Regions from separate parts of the Homo sapiens genome. Here region 2 is linked to region 1. Evidence: promoter capture Hi-C in 16 types of primary human blood cells and fetal thymus (Javierre and others, 2016). All regions are on one chromosome and are shown on one strand. Each heading gives the region's core, a stretch centred on a gene start or on the middle of the fragment in contact. The rest is flanking DNA. Distances are from core to core; before and after follow the strand shown.

Region 1 (3,373 bases), core at 629-3,128:
CAGGTGTGAGCCACTGTGCCCAGACTGAATTTTTAAAATTTTAAATAATTCAGTTAAAAGAAAAAAAAATAAAAACTATAAATAAAATAGTCAGCTTTTTTCCCCCACCTTCATTCCTATATTTCATGAGAGAAGGAAGGGTTTTTGAAGATGCTTAGATTGTGCTACTAAAAACAGGAGGCATTAAAGCATTTAAAACTAAATTGGTAAAGTTAAATATTACCATACGACCCAGCAATTCCACTCTTACGTCCATACCTAAAAGACCTGAAAACAGGCTCGGCGCGGTGGCTCACGCCTATAATCCCAGCACTTTGGGAGGCCAAGGTGGGCGGATCACCTGAGGTCGGGAGTTCGAGCCCAGCCTGACCAACATGGTGAAACCCCGTCTCTACTAAAAATACAGAAAACTTAGCCAGGCGTGGTGGTGGCACATGCCTGTAATCCCAGCTACTCCAGAGGCTGAGGCAGGAGAATTGCTTGAACCCATGAGGCGGAGCTTGCAGTGAGTTGAGATAGCGCCACTGCACTCCAGCCTGGGCAACAGAGCGAGACTCCATCTCAAAAAAAAAAAAGGAACTGAAAACAGACATCCAAATATTGTATGTGAATGTCCATAGCAGCATGGAAACAGCCCAAATGTCCACCACCAGCTGAAGAATGGATAAACAAAATGTGGTATGTCTATATCCATACAATGGAATTTTTTCAGCCCTAAAAAGTCCTGATAGGGCCGGGCAGGGTGGCTCATGCCTGTAATCCCAGCTACTCCGGAGGCTGAGGCAGGAGAATCGCTTGAACCCATGAGGTGGAGGTTGCGTTGAGCCTAGATGGCGCCATTGCATTCCAGCCTGGGCAATAAGAGCGAAACTCCATCTAAAGGGCCGGGCGTGGTGGCTCACGCCTGTAATCCCAGCACTTTGGAAGGCCGAGGCGGGCAGATCACGAGGTCAGGAGATCAAGACCATCCTGGCTAACACAGTGAAACAAACCCCGTCTCTACTAAAAATACAAAAAATTAGCCGGGCGTGGTGGCACGCGCCTGTAATCCCAGCTACTCGGGAGGCTAAGGCAGGAGAATCGCTTGAACCCGGGAGGTGGAGGTTGCAGAGAGCCGAGATCACGCCACTGCACTCCAGCTTGGGCGACAGAGCGCGACTCGGTCTCAAAAAAAAGAAAAGAAAAAAAAGAAAAGAAGTCCTGATAGATGTTACAACATGACTGCATCTTGAAAACATTAAGCAAAAGAAGCTAGACACAAAAGGTCATATACTGAATGATTCCATCAATAAAGAAATGCCCAGAATAGGTAAAGCTATCACAGAGTCAGAAAGTAGATTAGTGGCTGGCTGGGGTTGTGGGGAGAGGGGAACCAGAAGGAATGACTGCTAACTGGTTTGGGGATTTTCTTTTGGGGTTATGAAAATGTTTCTGAACTATATACAGAGGTGATGGTTGCACAACACTGTGAATGCATTAAACGCCACTGAATTGTGAGTTTTAAGATGGTTTATGTTAGGCAAGTTTTACTCAATAAAAATAAAAATAAACTGAATTGGTAGCTAAGATATTGAAACACGGTGTGGAATCGTTCTCACTCATTTCACGAACCCGTAGAAAGATGCTTGCGCTCAGGCCTCACAGACCGGTCCCAGCGCGTTGGTGGGACACAACTCGGATTTGCAGGCAAGCCCAGGGGCCGGCCCTTTGCGGACTTCCTGGGGACGCAGGACTCCTGCGCGGCGGGCTTGGAGGCGTGGCCAGGATGGGGGCGGGGCCAGGACGCGGCATCCAGGAGAGGACGCGGCGGGAGGCGGGCTTCGCCGGTTGCCAGGAGAACTCGCGACAACAAAAGACGCGGACGGCGGCTGCGCGGTGTGGCAGAGCGAAGCTGAGGAGTCCAGCGCTCGCCGACAGGGGCCTGGGCTGTCCCGAGCCGGTCAGTGCTCGGCGGGCCTGGCGGGCGGTGCGGGGAAGTGGGGCGCCCTCCCTTCGCGGTGCCCGCCCTCCAGCCCGCCGCGCCCGCCGCTCCCGCGCCCCCAGCCGGCCGTTGGGACTAGTAGGCTCCGGCTTGGGGTCGGGGCCGCCGCGGGTGGGTAGCGGAGGGTGGGCGGTTGGGGCGCCAGCTAGGCCTATGGGGGCGTCCGAGGGGTCTGGGGTCGGGGCTGGGAGCCGGCGAGCGACTAGAGGCAGAGCGCCCCTTCCGGAGGAAGTTGGGTCAGCCCTGAGGAGCGGGTCCCGGGGAACACCGATCGACCGGAACGCGGGACCCGGCCTTTCAGAGCGCACCCTGTGTTCGTCTCGTGTCGCTGCACGGCGTGAGGTGCGACGCGAGGGCCACCACCACCGAGCGCTTTGTTTTATCGCAGGCGTCTTTTTCCCACCGTAGAGGTTGAAACTTGGGCGCATTTCCCACCGTAGAGGTTGAAACTTGGGCGCATTTCCCACCGTAGAGGTTGAAACTTGGGCGCATTTCCTACCGTAGAGGTTGAACCTTGGGCACATTCAAGCCCGAGAGCTCCCTCCCTCGGAGGCAGGTGACTATAAAGAGCAAAGCGCCCAGATTCTTTCTTTGAAACACCTTTTAAGTAACACCTTTTAAGTCTCCAGTGTTGAAAATCCTTGTTGTTTGCCCTTCTTTACTCTTTTGTCGTCTTTACGCATTTGGGGCCTTTTCTGAGCTCCGTATGCGATTTACTGTCCATCTACTGGCAAGTTTTTTATGAAAATAATTAACAAACCACACATTTAAGACAACCACTGCTTTCTGGGAAATCAAGGGTACGGGATGGCAACGGTTTTTGGAGACACTCATTCCTGACCAGTGACATGACATGAGGGATTCAATATTTCTCTTGCCTTTGCTCAGATTTCAAAAACCCGTTGAGTATACTTAAATACGACCAATCAGATTTTGCTTTTTTTTAAATCATTTATTGGCAACATAATACGTATGTTTCTGATGACTATAATTGATCAGAATCTGAAGTATAAGTGCTATGGATTGTGTAAAAACTTTATTTCTTGTATATTGATGTTTTACAAGCCCTATGTTTGTGGACCATTACTATTGTTTGTTTGTTTTGTTTTGAGACAGGGTCTCGCTCTGTTACTCAGGCTGGAGTGCAGTGGCACACTGCAGCCTCAACCTCCCGGGCTCAAGCGATCCTCCAATCTCAGCCTCCCAAGTAGCTGGGACTACAGGTGCGTCACCACAGCCTGGCACATTCTTGTATTTTTAGTAGAGACAGGGTTTCACCATGTTGCCCAGGCTGGTCTGGAACTCGTGGGCTGAAGCGATCCACCTGCCTTGGCCTCCCAAAGTGCTGGGATTACAGGTGTGAACCACTGTGCCCGGCCCCATTATTATTTT
Region 2 (3,765 bases), core at 561-3,060, 4.3 Mb after region 1:
GCACACCACAGCCAGCCCAGGTTGGGGATAGAGTATTGTCTCGCACCGGGAGAGAAGTTATCCTTTCATTCCGTGAAACGCAGAAGCTGCCTCCACCATACAATTCTTGAAATGTGTGTGGGCAAATCCTCAAAAGAGATGACAGTGCGATCCACTCACCAGAGGACAGAGTACCTAAGGGGTATCCCAGAGTACTTCTCTTCTGCTTATTTGATGAACCAGCTAAGAAAATCCACACCCTGCCCATGTGTCACCCCTGGATGGAATAAGGGTTACACGTGCAGCTCTCCAGGGATAAGTTTTGGGTCAATGATATAGAAATAGCAACAGCCTGGCATAAATGCTGGGTAAGTTCCAATGAAAAGAGAGAGGGTATATAGATTTGTGGTGATGAATGCCAGCTAAATCCCTCTCCATAGATAGAAAACAACTACCACTGAGAGCTATTACTAAGGCAAAGACAAAACAGCTCTAACTCTTGCTTCTGACTAAAACTTCTGAGGCCCTTCCTCTTTAGAGTAATAATTTCATAAACTGTTCGCAGTATACTTACTTTGAACAAGTCCTAAGCCTTGCAAACTGTCATTATCAGTGTAAATACTCCATTGCCCATGCGTAAATGTGCTGCCCCCCTGCTTCTCTCCAACAGCCCAGCTTACAAAACTGGTAATAACTTAGCTAGTATAGGACCACTGAACCTACCACCATTGCTGGAACGCTGGAGTCATTTTAAGAGGGTGTGTAGAGGGATCAAGAAAGTGCCTTCTAGAACTCACATCCCTGTCCCTCTTTTCTCTAGCCACCAAATACATTATTGCTGTCCAGAAGTGGTAAACCAAACCATCGAATCACATCAAAGGCAAAAAAAAAAAAAAAAAGCCACATTAAAAACAAACACAAATAACTTATAAATGCATTTTTTAAACATTTAATTCCCAACTGGTTTCCTCTACCTATCTTATAACACAAGAAAAAAAAGAAGAAATAAAAAAGATGTATTCTAGGAAAGCAAAGATTAAATGAAGAATGTGAAGAACAATGGGCTGGTGCTTGTATTGTCTCCTTCACCAGTGCTGCAACAGCACCTAGAGATGTAGCTCATTAGTCCGGTCCATCATTCCTACACAGATCAAAGTGATATATACCTAGATACAAAGAACTTTGCCCATCAAAATAATAAATACAAATAAATAATATCCAGCAGGGATTAAGGGGCAGTGAAAAGGAACTATCCTTTTGTTTGAATGCTGCAAAGAAATTCTTTTAACAGTAAAAGCAAAACATCTGCCTTCATTTAAAACTGAGTTGTGTGATTTCCTGCATCGACGAACCTCTTTCTAAACTACAAAGAGGCTACAAAACATCACATTTTCCCCTCCCAGCTTCCCCCTTCAAAAGCCCACAAGATGGTGATTAACAAACAGCCCCTTGTCTGTAGGCACTCTCATAAGCCACAGGAAAAGATAAAAGTTAAAGAGAAGAACAAGTTTGTAAACAAATGAGAAATAGGTTGCCTAGGGAGGAAGCAAATTCCATCTTGATAAGCAAGCAGCTTCCCTAGCCCACATGTGGGAGATTCCGAGTGAAAGCAACCTCACCCTCTCACCCACTGAAAGCAGTCTGCAAGCAGAGGGCAGGCTGAGCCATCCATGGACTCTAGGCAGTTGCAGAGAATCCCCCAACTCAAGAGGTTCTGCGTATGAGCCTAAAGTTCAGGGACTCTCTATTTCAGGAATGAACTGGGGCCTGAATCTCTAACCCATAGCAAACCCATCTCCCAGGAGATATCCTCCCACATAAATTTATTTGAAGTCCTGAATCCACCAACTATTAGCTGTATCACCTTGTGCAGAGCTGACCCTGTTTAATCAACTTTTGATTGGATATAATCCCTGTCTTAGGATCATTATGAGAACTAACGATAAGAATTTTGGCAGTGTGCCCAGACCAGTGGTAAGCGCAAGCCAGATATATAATAAATGTTTACTTCTATTGAAAGGAAATTCCAATTTCACTCAAGAATCACTGCCTTAGGTGAAAAATCCAGATATCCTCCTATGGTATCTCTAGAAAGACAAAAGAATCCATCATGGGAGAAGGAAAAAGGGAACTCCCCACAGTATTCGGAAAACACACACCCTAAAACATACACACACTGTAACAGGTTAAATTTCATCCTCCAGATCTGCTTCCCGTGCAGGTGCTGTAATAAGTAAAAGGACAGGTCACTGGGTCCTGCCCAAGGTGCTTCCACTTACTTATCAACTGCCCTAATACTAGACCTTCTGAAGGGTTTTGGGAAAAAATCTAATTTAAAACCTACACTCATTTAGATTTACTAAACAGGAGTAAATGAAGTTGGCCTCCTATTTTAAAATGCCCAAATGAGAGGTAAAGGGGAAAAAACACCACCAATACCCTTCACTCCGTTAACATTAATTGTGGAATATTATCAGCGTGTAAATAATCTTAAATTAGAAAAGGTGGCTTTAAACCTTAATGAAAACCAAAAACACAAGAACCCTTCCCACCCCCACACACATAGTCTTATAATTGTATCTGAAGTTTATGCAGACATCAAAATTTCACTTGTCATCTTTAAGATTTTATAATCTAGTAGTATCTACCCACTATTCAGGCCCTCTAGATTGTTATTTCCTAATATTTCTGAAGCAAGATAAAGTTCTGTCAGCAAAATCTTCATTTATTAGTTACTTTCAGCTAGAACACCCCATCTTCCATGATAGTTCACTCTCATTATTATACAAGAGTTCAATTATACCTATCTCTGAAAAAAAAAAAGGCACTGGGTAAGAATATAACAGACACATTTGTGCCTCCATACTAAAACACCTACTCCTCCATCTACTCTTCTAAATCTAAGAGTACACAATAAGACAGAAGATGTGCAAAAAACTGGCAAGGTTGAAAAAAAAAGTTATCATAAGGGAAATGTGGTCTAAAATGAACTTTCAACAAACTTCATAGCAAGCAGTGTCCCCAAATAAATTTACTGCACCCTAGATTCAAGTACACTCAAGGCTAGAATGTCATGCCAGTCATGTATTACTTCAATCTCAATAAATCTCTTCTTACTCTCCAAATCCTAGCTGCTTTCTAAAATAGTTCACTAAAAAACACCAACCTAATTAACAACAGCTTCCTCTGCAACAGTGGCCTTGATTTCACTTATTTACACATTAACTGCAGCCTGCTTTTGGCCAATCCAGTCTATTCTCTGTACCATGCCGAGCCTTTTATCTGCCCTGGACAGCATTTTCTCCAGCAGATGAAGTAGATGCCGATTGATTTGCTGTCGAGCATGGTAAATTAATAGCAACAAATTGCTGAGGGCCCGTCTCGCTGCTCCACCATGCTTCGGCAGTTTTGCTTTATTTGCTCCATGATGGGCAGCAGTCGGCCTCTTCAAGTCAATTTCTTCTTAACAACCTGCAATACTTTTCAATGGTGAAAATAGAGCTGTTCCTTGTAAGTCAGAAATCAATATCTTATTGCCCTTAGAAAATGCTAAACAAGCAGTATTGGCAATCCACTTGGTACTAGAGGGTATCAGATACAATGCAAATCCATACTGCTTCCCTCCTTGTAGTTATTACAGTTTGCTAAAAGGTTCCTAATGTCATTTATCATCATTTACCATCGACCAAAGAGGCTATGATTATGATATCCTATCAGTTGGCAAGGCCCTTTCATTTCTATTCAATTAATATTTTAGCAGCACTCAAATGGTTGTGGCCCAAGTCT

What was found. The method cuts DNA at HindIII sites, captures the fragments that hold promoters and counts their contacts. A CHiCAGO score of 5 or more calls a contact.
Region 2: a fragment that was not itself captured here is called in contact with the fragment with the promoter of KIF27 in region 1 in 1 of 17 cell types (non-activated CD4 T cells); the score reaches 5.3 in non-activated CD4 T cells.

Annotation. Positions count from the first base shown.
Region 1 is chr9:83,919,937-83,923,309 of GRCh38, reverse strand. KIF27 (kinesin family member 27) reads left to right here and starts at 1,878. Exons shown (of 18, transcript NM_017576.4): 1 at 1,878-1,939. LOC105376335 (serine/arginine repetitive matrix protein 1-like) reads right to left here and starts at 2,409. Exons shown (of 3, transcript XM_011519284.2): 1 at 2,049-2,409; 2 at 1,612-1,956. The coding sequence starts at 2,409. RefSeq lists enhancers at 478-982, 1,597-2,346 and silencers at 1,716-1,865, 1,896-2,275. The HindIII fragment of the contact is 5,103 bases long and covers 1-3,373 here.
Region 2 is chr9:79,579,753-79,583,517 of GRCh38, reverse strand. The region is part of intron 4 of TLE4 (TLE family member 4, transcriptional corepressor); the gene reads right to left. Among named protein-coding and RNA genes, the nearest start is that of TLE4, 9.7 kb to the right of the region's middle. The HindIII fragment of the contact is 4,336 bases long and covers 1-3,765 here.